2 separate regions of the Homo sapiens genome follow, and region 2 is linked to region 1. The links are contacts of gene promoters, found by promoter capture Hi-C in human tissues and cell types (Jung and others, 2019). All regions are on one chromosome and are shown on one strand. The core of a region is centred on a gene start or on the middle of the fragment in contact, and the rest is flanking DNA. Distances in the headings are between cores, read along the strand shown.

Region 1 (7,860 bases), core at 3,919-6,418:
TAATTATCATTTTAAGTTTGTATAAGCATCTTTGAGTAGATGTATCTAATTTAATAATTTCTCTATCTTTAGATGTTTTCTATTTTTCCCTGGTTTGATTAGAACTTTCCATCTGGTATGCCATTGGCATTCTGGTGCACAGAGATGGATTCAGGTGTGGTATCTCCTCAGTCCTCTGAGAGGCCGTGGATGGGACCTGTGGTGATCAGAGTCCTCAGATTAGTAGGCTCTGGCTAAAAGACACATCCTTGACTGATTATTTCAGTGGGTTGTACAAATATCATTTTCAACGTGTGCCATTATATGAAAAAAGTTGGAATGCGTTTTTATAGTGATGCAACTTCAATTTCTATTACTATTACTAGTCATTGAACTTGTAGTGTTTTTACAATTGAGTTTTAATTACTTTTTTATAGTTTAATGTATTTTAATAGCAAAGTTACAGGAACAGCACAGAAGACAGACAACATTTAAAAACATGGGCTAGTTGCAGTGGCTCACGACTGTAATCCTAGCATTTTGGGAGGCCGAGGTGGGTGGATCACAAGGTCAGCAGTTCAAGACAAGCCTGGCCAAGATGGTGAACTCCTGTCTCTACTAAAAATACAAAAATTAGCCGGACATGGTGGCGGGCACCTGTAATCCCAGCTACTCAGGAGGCTGAGGCAGAGAATTGCTTGAACTCGGGAGGTGGAGGTTGCAGTGAGCCGAGATCACACCACTGCCCTCCAGCCTGGGCAACAGAGTGAGACTGTCTTAAAAACAAAAACAAAACAAAACAAAACAAAACAAACAAAAACCAAAAAAAATGTACTTGCATGTAGGACAACACAGAAAGTATAGTGATGGAATATACTGTATGATAAAAATGATACAAACACCATTTAGTTGCCGTCAATAAGAAATTTACTTGTTTTTAAAAAAATCCAAATGCTGGCATTGTCCAGAAAAATTTAACACGTTTATTATAATTATTATAAAGTTAAACTGCTGAAACTTGTTCACTGAAACATTTTGACTCGCATTAATGCTTTACGTCCCCACATTTATATTAAAAATTCACACACAAATGAAAATGGAAAAACTGCCAATACCTGATTTCTGTCCCCTATTTTTCCACTCGCAATCATATATACTTAGTACGTTTTGACCCCATGGGAAAAAAAAAATAGATAACGTTCAGAACTACCAACAACAGGTAAAAGAAATTGTGTGTGTGTGTGTGTGTGTGTGTGTGTGTGTTAGAATGAAGTGTTTCCCATCATAGTGGCTTCTTTTTTTTTTTTTTTTTTTTTCTGAGACAGGGTTTCGCTTTTCTTGCCCCAGGCTAGAGTGCAATGGCGCGATCTCGGCTCACTGCAACCTCTGCCTCCCAGGTTCAAGCGATTCTCCTGCCTCAACCTCCTGAGTAGCTGGGACTACAGGCATGCGCCACCACACCTGGCTGGTTTTGTATTTTTAGTAGAGATGGGGTTTCTCCATATTGGTCAGGCTGGTCTCGAACTCCCGACCTCAGGTGATCCGCCCGCTTCGGCCTCCCAAAGTGCTGGGATTACAGGCGTGAGCCACCGTGCCCAGCATAGTGGATTCTTAAGCACATTCTTCAGGTATGTGGTGTGTTAGCTGGATGTCTTTTGGCATAATTGTTACATGTTCGGCATGGATAGCACACAGGTTGGTGTCTTCAAAAAGACCAACCAGGTAGGCCTCACTTGCCTCCTGCAAAGCACCAACAGCTGCACTCTGGAAGTGCATATCTGTTTTAAAGTCCTGAGCAATTTCTCGCACCAGACACTGGAAGGGAAGTTTGCGAATCAGAAGTTCAGTGGACTTCTGATAACGTCTAATTTCACGAGTGCCACAGTACCAGGTCTGTAATGATGAGGTTTCTTCACCCGTCCAGTAGAGGGCGCACTCTTGCGGCGTTTGTAGCTAGTTGCTTCCTGGAGTTTTTTTTGTTTGTTTTTTTTTGCTTTTTGTTTTTTTTTTTTTTTTGTTTGAGACGGAGTCTCACTCTGTCGCCCAGGCTGGAGTGCAGTGGCGCGATCTTCGCTCACTGCAACCTCCGCCCCCCAGGTTCAAGCGAGTCTCCTGCCTCGGCCTCCCGAGTAGCTGGGACTCCAGGCGCCTGCCACCGCGCTCAGCTATTTTTTTTTTTTTTTTTTTTTTGTATTTTAACTAGGGACAGGGTTTCACCATCTTGGCCAGGCTGGTCTTGAACTCCTGACCTCGTGATCCACCCGCCTCGGCCTCCCAAAGTGCTGGGATTGCTTCCTGGGTTCTTTACCACCAATTGATTTTTGGGCAGTCAGCTTTGTACCAGCCATGGTATAGTGACCTCCTTACTTAGACCCGTTCTTCTGCTGGAGCGTGGCGAGTGACAGGCGGCGCTGGTGTTGGAGAGCGATGGCTGAGTTTTAATTAACTTTTAAAGCAATACTTGAGGCCGGGCGCGGTGGCTCACGCCTGTAATCCCAGCACTTTGGGAGGCCGAGGTGGGAGACCAGACTGGCCAACGTGACGAAACCCCGTCTCTACAAAAAAAAAAAAAAAAAAACAACAAAAAATTAGCCTGGCGTGGTGGCGTGCATCTGTGGTCCCAGCTACTTGGAAGGCTGAGGCGGGAGAATCGCTTCAACCCAGGAGGCGGAGGTTGCAGTGAGCTGAGAGCGCGCCATTGCAGTCCAGCCTGGGCGACAGAGGGAGACTCCATCTCCAAAAAGAAAGGGGGGGAAAAAGCAATACTTGCACATAATACAAATGGAATCATACAGAAAGCTACAAAGTGGTAGTGTAGTAATCTGTTTTCACGCTGCTGACAAAGACATACCTGAGACCGGGCAATTTACAAAAGAAAGTTTTATTGGACTTACAGTTCCATGTGGCTGGGGAGGCTTCACAATCATGGTGGAAGGTGAAAGGCACGTCTCAGATGGAGGCAGACAACTGGAGAGAGCTTGTGCAGGGAGACTCACGTTTGTAAAACCATCAGCTCTTGTGAGACTTATTCACTATCACAAGAACAGCACGAGAAAGACCTGCCCCCATGATTCAATTACCACCTACTGGGTCTCTCCCACAACACGTGGGAATTCAAGATGAGATTTGGGTGGGGACACAGCCCTACCATACCAGGTAGTAAGTTCTCCCTTAACCTCAGGCTTTCAGTTCTTCTCCACAGAGCCTGACTAGTTTCTTGTGTATTGCTCTAGAGACATCCTAAAGCCAAACAAGTGGGCATGCATACACATATGTATATTTTAAGGGGCTACATTAAAAATATTTACTACAAGTACAACCAACTGGAATGAAGGCCCATGGTATATAGGATGTGCCAAAATGCCTACTGCATATTATCAGCCTTGCATGTATTCCTTGCTTTTATACACTAGTTTGCTTAAATTGCTTTTATCATCTAGTAATAATTTGGAGATTGTTCCACATCAGCACACGTAGAGCAACTTCATTCTTTTCAATGGTACTGTATTTTAACCACTTTCTACAGAAGGATCTTTAGGTTTTCCCCAGACGTTTGTTACTCGAAACAGTGCTCTAACAAATATCTTTACACAGCCTTAATTTATCTGTTGCATAAATGTCTAGACAAGGAAATGCTGGGGAAAACAGTATGCACATATAAAGTTATGACTGGTATTATTACATTTCCTTCCAAAGAGGTTTATCGTTTTTATCCCCACCAACAATGTAATGAGGGTCTACTTCCCAAACCCATGCTAACTCAATATATCTTTACCAGCCCAAAGGATGAAAAACAGTGTCTCACTGATTTAATTTGTATTTAATCTAAGATTAAATTTTAAGTTTTGTAAAACCAAGTTTATCTCTGTAATTGGAGAAAACATCATCCATTAACGTGAAAGGTAATAAGCTGATGAGACTAAATTCAAAGCAAAAGCTCGCTGAGAGGATCTGCCCAATGAGGAAGATGACAGTAGTGTCTGATTTTTTGCTCAGTGCCACCTCCTCCTTTTCCAACAGATAGCATTTGGGAGTGCTGAGTTATAAGAAAGTGTGGTGCGCTCGAGGCTTGCTTGAGGGTATGGAAATCTTGAGATAGGTCTGGAGAACCAGGGAGAGTTAAAAGAGAAAAAAAGTAAGAAAAAAAAAAGAACTTAAGGACTATCTGATCTGAGAGAGGCTTACAAAAATTAGCGTTTTGGTTCACTATTTCTCGCTATTTCTGCATTTCATTAACTGGCAGGGATCACTGGATACTCTGTCATGAATACATATGTTGGGTGTAGTTAGAGAACCTCAATGTCATTGAACCCGTCTTGTGGGTTTTTTGGAGAGAATGAGAGTATGCTGGGAGACATGCTCTGCTTGCAAATGATCAACCCCCGAGGCCAACCCCATTCATCATTTATTTTGAGGAACTGATGATCAAGACAGGAATATGTATGCCTGCCTACAAAATCCTCAAATCAGGCCACTGAATGTTCGACATGAGAACTTTGAATCACATAGAAGATACTCCAAAGGCAGAGAAAAATAGAAAGCCTTCCGACGCCCTGAAAAAATCTTGACCATCCCTGACTTCCCCCAATATGTAAGAAAACCTGTATTATTATTACACACACACTCCCACACACACCCCGCCCTCCCCCACACACACACCCTCTATCCTCACTCGATCTTATTCTATTCGCTCTATTTTTGAGCCTTGGATGTTAAAGTAAGGAACGAAGCTTAGTGGGGAAGCACTGAAGTGCATGGCGCAAATTTAGATTTAAGCCTCACGTTAGATTTCAGATTTGCACATCGAGTCCCGCCCCTATCCAATCCGGGGACGTCACCGCCCTAGTCTTCGGCTGTTTTAAAAGCAAGCGGTTTTTAAAACCCCCAATCCTGCTCTTTGTGTTGGCCTCCTCGGAGTTGCCCCTCTGCAAGCCAACAATTCGGGATAGAAAACACCTCCGTGGTGTTTTCCCGGGGCCCTCCCGCGCCGCGTTCGGCCGCCAGCCCGCTCGAGCTCCCGCGCCAACGCCTCAGGGGTTCGCCCTCCGCCCCCCGCCGCCGCGCCCGGCCCACGCGCAGGGCCCCTCTCCAGCGCCCCCTCCCCGGCACGCTGCGGCTGGCGCTCCCCAGCCCCGCCTGACGCTGCAGCTGGGCCGGAGACTCGCCATTGGATTAAAAATAGCGTCGCCAGTCCGCCCCAAGCCCGCGGTGCCCGCTCCCGCCCCGCAGCCCGCTCTCCCCGCCCGCCCCGGCTCGGCCGGCTGCCGTTGCCCGCGCAGCCCGCCCGTCAGCCCGCTCGCTGGCGCCGCCGCCGCCGGCAGACCCCGCGCTCCGGCTCCGGCTCGGCTCGCTCGGCTCCGGTGCGCGCCGAGGCCATGCAGCGCCGGGGCGCCCTGTTCGGCATGCCGGGCGGCAGCGGAGGCAGGAAGATGGCTGCAGGAGACATCGGCGAGCTGCTAGTGCCCCACATGCCCACGATCCGCGTGCCCAGGTCCGGCGACAGGGTCTACAAGAACGAGTGCGCCTTCTCCTACGACTCTCCCGTAAGTGAGGCGCCTCGGGGGAGGGTCGCGGGGCCGGCGGCCTGCGGCACGTGAAGCCGGGGGAGAAGATGCGCAGTGGCGGCCGGGACCTCTTCTCTTCCTCCGGGCGGCAGAGTTGGCTCAGGAACACTGCAGTTCGGCAGACACTTAGTGAGCGCCCCAGGGCTGCTGCAGCCGAGGACTGGCTCGTGCTGGTGGTTTTGCTCCGCCAGCCTCCCCAGGCTGGAAGGGCCCGATTCCCAGCAGCTTGCACACAGCCCCGCCGCCGTTTAAAGATAGATGAAATACAAGAGTTCCCTGTTCCGAACTGCACGTTGCAGATCGTTTGCGTCCTCCGCGGGGCAGAGCGCAGGGCGGGTAGGTGGACGGGATGATCCCCCCACACCCCGGGACACACACAGCCCTTCTTTTTCTGGGACCACTTGCTTTGCTCAGGGATCCCCACTTCTGGACAATTCTGATTTGCTCTCTGAGCTTTTCTTCCACCAGTTCCCATTTCACCCCACTCCTTTTCTTGTCTTTAGAATGTCAGGGCCAGGCGCGGTGGCTCACGTCTGAAATCCTAGCACTTTTTAAGAGGCGGAGGCGGGCGGATCGTTTGAGGTCAGGAGTTCGAGACCAGCCTGGCTAATATGGCGAAACCCCATCTCTACTAAAAAAGAACCCCAAAATTAGCCGGGCGCGGTGGCGGGAGCCTGTAGTCCCAGCTACTCGGGAGGCTGAGGCTTGAGAATCGCTTGAACCGGGAAGGAGGAGGCTGTAGTGGGCCGAGATCGCGCCACTGCCCTCCAGCCTGGGCGACAGAGCGAGACTCCGTCTCAAAAAAAAAAAAAAAAAAATGTCAGACGAAACCTTCCGGTGCCTCCACTCGGGCAGCAGAAATAGGGGATCTACTGGATTGCGATGGTTTTCTTAAGCCTTCCCCACCTTGCCCTTCTAAATGAGTCACTTGGACTGACATGCGCAAGTATAAATTATTAAAAGTTCAATCCCGAGTCGTGACCTCGGAGAATGAGGAGGAAGCTGAGAGGGATCGCCGCCTTCCACCCGGGGCGGTTGGTGGTGGTTTTCACCTGGTTCTATGTGAATGTGTGAGAAGCAGCAGGAGGGTGAATGTCCCTTTCAAAAGTCAAAATGGGCTTCAAAGTGACTCAGCTGTCTGGCGTTTATCATGTCTTTTTGAGGACCAGGTTATTTTTATCCACCCACTTTAGATCTCATATGTCACCCGGCAGATCTCAATGCATTGGGAGGCGCATGGATTGGATGGACCGAGGCAGGTCTCGCAATGGTCTAATGTATTTTATTCATAGCATGTGGACTATTGTCAGAGGGGAAAAGAAAAGTCCAAATGAGCGGCAACATTTCCAAAGTTTCCTTTATTATCTGTGGGTTGATTTTGGCTGGCTTCAAAGCACTTTTGCTCGACACACACTGGAGTATCAGAGTTAGTATCCTCTCTGTGACATTTAGTTTTTTTATTTATGGTAACTCCATATCATTTGAGGGATGAAACCTAACTTAATTTTTGATTGTTTACTTTTTTTTTCTTTCGAAAAGATCCACAGAGTGGAGTGTGACAATCGGCAGTCCTTTTTTAGGATGTTATCCATAAATTATTTGAAAATGCCATTTTCAGATTGTATGGCCAGTGTTGGGCAGTTCCCACTAATAGCTTCTAAAGGTGGAGAGGGATGATGGTCCTAACTTAAGCAATTGACAGATTGTTACCTCCAGGAAGAAGAAAGTGGCCTAAGTTTTTTAGGATAGCACAACATGGAAAGTGGGTCAAATGACTTTCCCCATGTTTTGATTTGGGCTCTTCTTCAAGTTCTGCTTACAAACTTTGCTCTTGGAAGTTTTTGCTGCATAATGCAGTGGATAACAGGTGTGGGAAAAAAGGCTGATTGTTTTAATTCATTTCCACAAATAGTTATTGGGAGCTTACTGTGTGTGTTTCTAGAATGTTACTATTCTAGAAACATCTCGTCCAGTGTAGACTGATGATTGCAATCATATCACAGCAGTTCCTTAGGGGAGACTGGGATTATTTACAAGGCTGATGAATCAGTATATTTCATTATCTATGTTTCAGGGGAGGAAGGGAAGGTTTGATAATATTTATCTTAAAGCACAGTGCGTGATAATGGGAAGGTTTTTTTTGTTTTGTTTTGTTTTTTTTTTGAGTTTTGCTCTTGTTGCCCAGGCTGGAGTGCAATGGCACAATCTCAGCTCACTGCAACCTCTGCCTCCTGGATTCAAGTGATTCTCCTGCCTCAGCCTGCCAAGTAGCTGGGATTACAGGCGTGTGCCACCACACCTGGCTAGTTTTGTATTT
Region 2 (7,860 bases), core at 3,007-5,506, 610 kb after region 1:
GACCTCAACCTATGAAACTGTTCCAATAAAACATTGGGGAAAATCTCCAGGACATTGGTCTGGGGAAAAATTTCTTGAGGAATAGCCCGCAAGCACAGGCAATCAAAGCAAAAATGAACAAATGGGATAACATTAAGTTAAAAAGTTTCTGCATAGCAAAGGAAACAATCAATGAAGTGAAGAGACAACCTAGAGAATGGGTGAAAATATTTGCACACTGCCAGTGTGACAAAGTATTAATAACCAGAATACATAAGGAGCTCAAATGACGCTACAGAAAAAAAATCTAATAATCAAATAAAAAAATAGGCAAAAGATTTGAATATGCATTTCTCAAAAGAAGACATACAAATGGCAACAGACATATGAAAAGGTGCTGGGAGACGTCATCCCGCCCTATTAAAATGGATTTTATACAAAAGACAGGCAATAATAAATGCTGGTGAGGATGCGGAGAAAAGGGAACCCTTGTAAACTTTTGGTGGGAATGTATAATAAATTAGTATTAATGCAACCACTATGGAGAACAGTTTTGAGGTTCCTCAAAAAACTAAAAATAGAGCACTATATGATCCAGCAATTCCTCTGCTGGGTATACACCCAATAGAAAGGATATCAGTATATCAAAGAGATATCTGCACTTGCATGTTTGTTGTACACTGTTCATGACAGCCAAAATTTGAAGGCAACCTAAGTGTCCATCAACAGATGAGTAGATAAAGAAAATGTGGTACCTATACACAATGGAGTGGTATTCAGCCATGAAAAAGAATGTGATCCAGTCATTTGCAGCCACCTGGATGGAACTGGAGATCATTATGTTAAGTGAAATAAGCCAGGCTCATAAAGACAAACTTCACATATTCTCACTAATTTGTGGGTTCTAAAAATCAAAACAATTGAACTTATGGAGAAATATGGCTGATAGGGCCAGATGGAAGGGTAGAAGGAGTGTGGGGGGATGGTGGGCATGATTAACGGTTACAAAAAAAATAAAGAATAAAACCTACTATTTGATATCATGACACGGTGACTATAGTCAATAATAACTTATTGTATACTTAAAATAACTAAAAGAGTATAACTGGATTGTTTGTAACACAAAGGATGAATGCTTGAGGGGATGGATACCTCATTTTTTTTTTTTTTTTTTTTTTTTTTTGAGACAGAGTCTCGCTCTGTCGCCCAGGCTGGAGTGCAGTGGCGCAATCTCAGCTCACTGCAAGCTCCACCTCCCGGGTTCACGCCATTCTCCTGCCTCAGCCTCCCGAGTAGCTGGGACTACAGGCGCCCGCCAACACGCCCGGCTAATTTTTTGTATTTTTAGTAGAGACAGGGTTTCACCGTGTTAGCCAGGATGGTCTCGATCTCCTGATCTCGTGATCCGCCCATCTCGGCCTCCCAAAGTGCTGGGATTACAGGCGTGAGCCACCGCGCCCAGCCCTCATTCTTCATGATGTGATTTTTATGCATTACATGCCTGTATCAAAACATTTCATGTACCCCATAAATATATACACCTACTATGTACCCACAAAATTTGTTTTTAAATGTGGAGGATATGCATTCACCATATCCTCCAAATCCCCAATTATTTTTCCATTTTCCTTTCATTCAAAAATCTAGACACAGACTTTGTATCTAGAACCAAGCCAGGAGTTTTGTCCCTAGTAACTCTCCTTGGCCATTAGTGCTCTGTCCATCCCTCATATTTTTATGTAATATGCTAATATTTGAATATTGAAGTCTTACAAAGTAAAGTTTTCTATGAATGACCTATCCACAAGTACATGCTATTTTAGGAATTAATTATGTTCTCCCTGGACCCCATGAATGCCTTATGTCAAGTCCTAAAAAGATAGAAACGATATACAGACAGTCAGTCCCTGACTTAAAATGGTTTGACATATGATTTTTTGGCTTTATGATGGTATAAAAGTGATATGTATTCAGTAGAAACCAAATTTCAAGTAACCCAACCATTCCATTTTGTATTTTTCATACCGTATTCAACACATCACATGAGATATTTAACACTTTATTATTAAATGGTCTTTGTGTTAGATGATTTTTCCACCTGTGGGTAATGTAAGTTTTCTGAGCATGTTCAAGGTAGGCTAGGCTAAGCATAATGTTCAGTAGGTTAGATGTGTTAAATGCATTTTTGGCTTATGATATTTTCAACTTGTGATGGGTTTATCAGGACATAACCCCATCATAAGTCGAGGAGCATCTGTATTTTGAAAAATATTGCTATTTATCTTTTGATATTTTAAAAGTGCATTTCTTTCTCTCGTGAATTCAAATGTACTTTCTGGGCTTAACCTCCATCTCAAGCTATCAAGATTATAAGCATCCGTTTGTTGGATAATTGTTCTTTTTATTATGTTTGACACATTTTTAATTGTTTCTATTGATTTATTCTTCTTAGCAATTGCATGTGATGATCAGAATATTTGCTATATGACCTTCCTGCTTTGTCTTCAAGTGGATGGTGTAAGTCGTGTTTCAAAGTATATTTTCAGAAATCCTTAGAATGTTGTAAAATTTGTATATGAAAAAGGATAAAGTACTTAGCAAATTAGCTCTTGTTCCCACAAAGAAACTTCAAAAATTAAAGTACATAGTGAAATAATCTTTAAAAAAAATTGAGCTAGGGATAGAAAAAATAGCAATTTGATGACCAGCAAGTGTTTATATAATGAGTTCAAAAAAATTTAGGACCAATTTGCTGAATTAACAAAACCTGTAAGGCAAATAAGTGTTTTCCAGATGGACTGTCTCATCCATTACTGCCCACGACATTCTCTTTCTTGGCCTGGAAAGAAACAGTAGTGGAAATTCTACGTAATTCTTAAACATTGTGAAAATTGCCCAGTCAGCTTTTTAAGAAGCTACAGAGCTCTAACCACCAACAAACATTTATAGGACTTAGAATTGGGTTTATCCAAATTTTACATAGTTGCCAACTCTAGCAAAATGAACTGAACAATGATCTATCTTTCAGAACTACGCAATTAAGTTTTTTGTACTAGAAAAATGCATCCTATTCAAGGTTCTTTTCTGGCAAAGAAAAAGTATTCACTCTTCTTTTGCATTTTTCTGAAACCCTATGACATTCTTCCCACTTCCACCATAACACCCAACCCCTGTGCGGTTGAAAGGGCAATCTCCTTTAAACTCCCAGCACAGCCATGCCATCAGGATTTTTCATGGAAGAAGTTCATGGGTTATTCCTGAACAATCAGCTATCTTGCAGACTAACTTCATATTTTGCTCCCAGATGCCCAGAGAATCCTCCTGGGCAGACATATCCTATGTGTTCAGATGAGAGAGATAAATGACCTCCTTAGATGGCAATATAAATTTGAAGATTGAAATTGAGAAGGAAAATCAACCCCTTCAATCTTTCTTACCAGAGACTAGAAAAAAATCGTGTGTGCTTACCTGATAACAGTGAGCAACTCTTGCTATCTGTGCCACCGAATTAATCTTGAAACTGATGTGAAATGTGTCTAACTTCACAACACCAGCTCCTTCTGATACTGTCTGACAGCACCACCCCATCAGAGATTCTTCTAGTTGTGTGCTATGGATATTCGTTTCCTGTAAAGATGGTTGCTTGGATATTTTGATTTTGTGAATGCTGGGTCAACCTAATCATATTTTCCCATATAAATTGCATCCATGTGAAATTAAAATTGAACATAATTAAGAGGAATCCTTTCTGTCTGTATGTCCTATGCATCATTTATCAGGTACAGATATCTCAGGATTAAGGAATCTAAATTTAATTTCATTTTGGATGCCTAAGTAAGTCCTGGGTGAACAAGAAGGCTGGATGAGTCAACAAGAATTGCTGAATTGGCCAGGCTTACTTTGGAGAAAGAAACTTGCATCTGGCAACTGGGCAGTGATTCAGGAGATGGCTGATGCTAAAAGAAAAAATGAAAGTATGAGGCTTACATGCTTATAATCAGCTCCTAACCTCTTTAAAAACACCCTTAATTTCCCTTGTAGTGGTTTCTTTTTCCATTCAAAGGGTTCTGGATCTTAATTTTAATTCAATTTCATCAGGAAACCAATGTAGAAAGAGTAAAAAGAAAGGCAGATGAATAGCAGAAGGAGGTTATCTCAACCTCAATCACTCATGGATGCTTCTAGCTGAAAACACCAGAAAAATCTAAGTGATGTAAACAACTAAGAGCAAATGTAAGAAGAGCTAGAATGCTAAAGTCTAAAGGCAGTTAGTGGGAAGGAGATACTTATAAATTATAAGATAATCTGAGAAGGAAAAGTTGATGGAAGGGGAAAGAGAAGAAAGTGGAGGGGACATGGGGGAAGAGCAAGAAGCGGAGGGAAACAGAAGGTAAAAATGTATGGACTCCATTACCTGATTAGAACTAGGTCCTCAGCTTAAGCTCAGTTACGCTATCAAAGGATGACCTCAACATCTCAGTAGCTTACAAAAACATTGATTTCTCTTTCATGCTACATATATACTCCAGGTCAACTGCCACTCAGCAGTTAATTGTCTACATTCTAGGATCTGGGTTGACTGTCTGAGAGTTCTTAATGAGGTTTTAGAGGAAAAATAGAGCATGAAAGCCACAAGATAGAAGCTCAGAAGGGACACGCTTCATTTCTGCTCACATTTTATTTGTCAAAGCAAGTCACATGGCCAAACCTGATGTTAATGGGGTGGGAATGTATATTTTGAATGATATGTAATTATCCAATAATAATGTAATAATTAAAACATATGTTTTAATCTTCACATCAAGTAAAGATGGCTATGATTTTCCCATGCTTAGGAGTATTGGTTAGAGTGTTTTGCAGAATGTCCTTCAGTTTGTTTTCTTCTGATACTTTTCTCATAAGACTGGGATTATGGGGTTTTTTGGGGAGAAGGGAGAAAAATGCCATTCTCATCACATGATATCAAGAATATATGCTATTAACATGAGCATCATTGTTAATCTTAAACTTGGGGTCAGGCTTGTCAGTTTTCTCCACTGTAGTTACTTGTTTTTCCTTCTTTCTATACTATACTCTTTGGAAGGAAGTCACTATGCACAATTCACACTTCAGAAGTGAGGAGTTATGCTTCACTTCTTTAAAAGTATTTCCCCAATTTTATAGGTGAGGAATTGGAAGTTTAGGGAGCTTAAGCCCAAGACAGCATACTTACTTAGTAGCATCAAGACTGATACCCAAGTCTGTCTGACATATAAAACTATTCTTTCTTCAATATTCCACAAAAAGTACTCCTACTCCTCTAAGAACAGGAAAGTGCTAAGAAAAACAGAAGGATGTATTTATTGGCTGTTTTACTGAAGCATGTTGAGAAACATGCCCTTGATATTTCAGACATTCAGATAATGGTTCCTTAACTTGCTCCTCACTAGCATGGTGACTGGAGAGCTATAAAGCTCCCTCACGTTTGTAACACTATCCAGTCACTGTCCTGACATGGCCTAACTATATACTAGACTGTCTTTCTATAATCATGTCCTGACTCCATTCTAATCAGTAAGCCATCTTTCAAAAGAGAAACTAACTTCTTAGAGCACTGTGAGGGGAGAGCAGAAAATGAAAGTGATATTATCTGCACATCTTGTGGCCAGGAGATAGCTTCTAAGCAGTGTTTTCATGAAGAGAATTATAAATCCAGATATGCCTAATAAAGAAAGACATGTTCTTGACACAGAAAAAGCTCTAGACAAATAGGAGAACTGTCACCAAGACTGAGAAGTACAGCAACAGGATGGTCTATGTCTGTTGGTCGAAAATTCTGAGGGTTTTCCTTCTTGTCAGGGAGATTCAATGTTGACATTTAAAGTATGTGCCAAGTCCTGTGTCCAGTTTTCTTTTGAAGTGTCATTGACAGTGCAGTTCAAAGACAGAAATGAACATCAGATAGCACTGAGTCGTGTTTTCTGAACTAGAATCTAATCTCTCTTCTGAAAAAAAAACTAAGTTATAGAATGTATAAAGATAAAACAGAGTTTATGAATATTCTACATATTTCATATGAAGAAAAGTCTTTTCTCTGTCCATTTTTATACAGAGAATAGAGACTAGTTGGTTTCTAAGTCACATGTACATACTATATATTTAATTGTAATTGTATGATACACAAACATTATTAGTTGAAATATCCTGATGTACAATTATTTTTAAGTAGATTGAGCTCTTGGCTGGCAGTCAGAAAGTTGAATTTTTCACTTCTATTTCTCATAATGTGCAGATATATTTTCAGAAATTTTCTCCAATTGCTGAGATTATCTGGACTATTTGAATTTGCTATTGTAAATCACGTACAAGGATTAAGCTTTTAGGACAAGAACTGTTTTCTTTCCCACTGTGCCTCAACACTTAGTTTATCATAGAATACTATAGATACTTAATAAATGTATGTTAAATAATACATACCAAAACACTGTATACACGCAGTAAATGTTTCTTAAATATCGAATGAATGCTCTCAAGAAAGAAGCATTGAGTGAATTTAAGACAGTCATAAAATGCACAGCTACATCTAAAATAAAAGACCACGTCTAAAGTCAATGCTCATTATTATCCTTCAGTTCAGAATAAAGCTTTTTAAAAAATGAGAACAAGTTTAATAAAGTCTGTATCACATAACATGCGTGATAGCACATTTCTTCCAAATATATTGATCGAAGGCAAGATTTCCAATGGTGAATATTGATAATTGACTTCTAGGCTGTCTCTGCAGGGGCTCACAAAACTTGCTGACCAGCAGGCTGCTATTCATATGAACAGAAAGTAATTTTCCTTTTGATAAGTCAAAAAGATTATATGTTCTTTACATTAAATAACAAAATTGATTGAAAATTAATATTTAATGCTGGTGACAGTATGTTGAGAGAGTTACTCTTCTCTAACACTGGTGTAAGACTATTTTGGTACAACTTTTCTGGAAACTAATTTGGGACTATACACAAAGAGGCTCAAAGAATTTATAGCTTTTTACAAAAGAAAACAAAGAATTCTACTTCTAGGTATTCATCTAAAATTAAAATCAGAGATTTTTTTTCAGAGATTACTGGATATAAAGATGTTTGCTATGTGATAATACTTAAACCTTTGAAACAACTTCAGTGGTTATTAGAGGACTGCCTAAGTAAACTAAGAAATATTCACTCAACAAAGTATTATTCATCCCCTTAAAATAAAGCGTCTATAAAGGAAGAGCCTTATCCAATTCTCCTTTGATGGGTACCTAGGTTAATTCCATGTTTTTGCTATTGTGAATAGTGTTGCGATGAACATATGAGTGTTCTTTTGGATGGATACACAGTAACGGGATTTCTAGGTTGAATGGTAGTTCTGTCTTAAGTCCCTTGAGAAATCGCCAAATTGCTTTCCACAGTGGCTGAACTAATTTAAATTCCCACCAACAGTGGATAAGTGTTTCCTTTTATCCATGTCTATTGTTTTTTGATTTTTAATAACAGCCATTCTGACTGGTTGTTAGAATGATTTCTCATTGTGGTTTTGATTTATTACTCTGATGATTAGTGAGGTGGAGCATTTTTTTCATATGTTTTTTGGCCACTTGTATATCTCCTATTGAGAAGTGTCTGTTCATGTCTTGCCTATTTTTAATGGAGTTATTTATTTTTGCTTGTTGAATTCTTTTAGTATAGATTCTGGATATTAGACTTTTGTCAGATGCATAATTTGTGAATATTTTCTCCCATTTTTTAGGCTATTTATTCTGTTGATAGTTTCTTTTGCTGTGCAGAAGTACTTTAGTTTACTTAGGTCTCACTTTTCTGTTTTTGTTTTTGTTGAAAATTGCTTTTGAGAACTAAGTCATAAATTCTTTAC

What was found. The method cuts DNA at HindIII sites, captures the fragments that hold promoters and counts their contacts. A contact is called where the count stands out against the background at its distance.
Region 2: a contact is called between a fragment that was not itself captured here and the fragment with the promoter of USP13 in region 1, in 1 of the 25 tissues and cell types used here (lymphoblastoid cells).

What each region holds. Positions count from the first base shown.
Region 1 is chr3:179,647,872-179,655,731 of GRCh38, forward strand. USP13 (ubiquitin specific peptidase 13) reads left to right here and starts at 5,169. Exons shown (of 21, transcript NM_003940.3): 1 at 5,169-5,522. The coding sequence starts at 5,355. It also overlaps the pseudogene H3P13. RefSeq lists silencers at 4,901-4,980, 4,991-5,330 and an enhancer at 4,999-5,642. The HindIII fragment of the contact is 11,294 bases long and covers 2,084-7,860 here.
Region 2 is chr3:180,261,826-180,269,685 of GRCh38, forward strand. No RefSeq gene overlaps it. Among named protein-coding and RNA genes, the nearest start is that of LINC02053, 150 kb to the right of the region's middle. The HindIII fragment of the contact is 4,424 bases long and covers 2,045-6,468 here.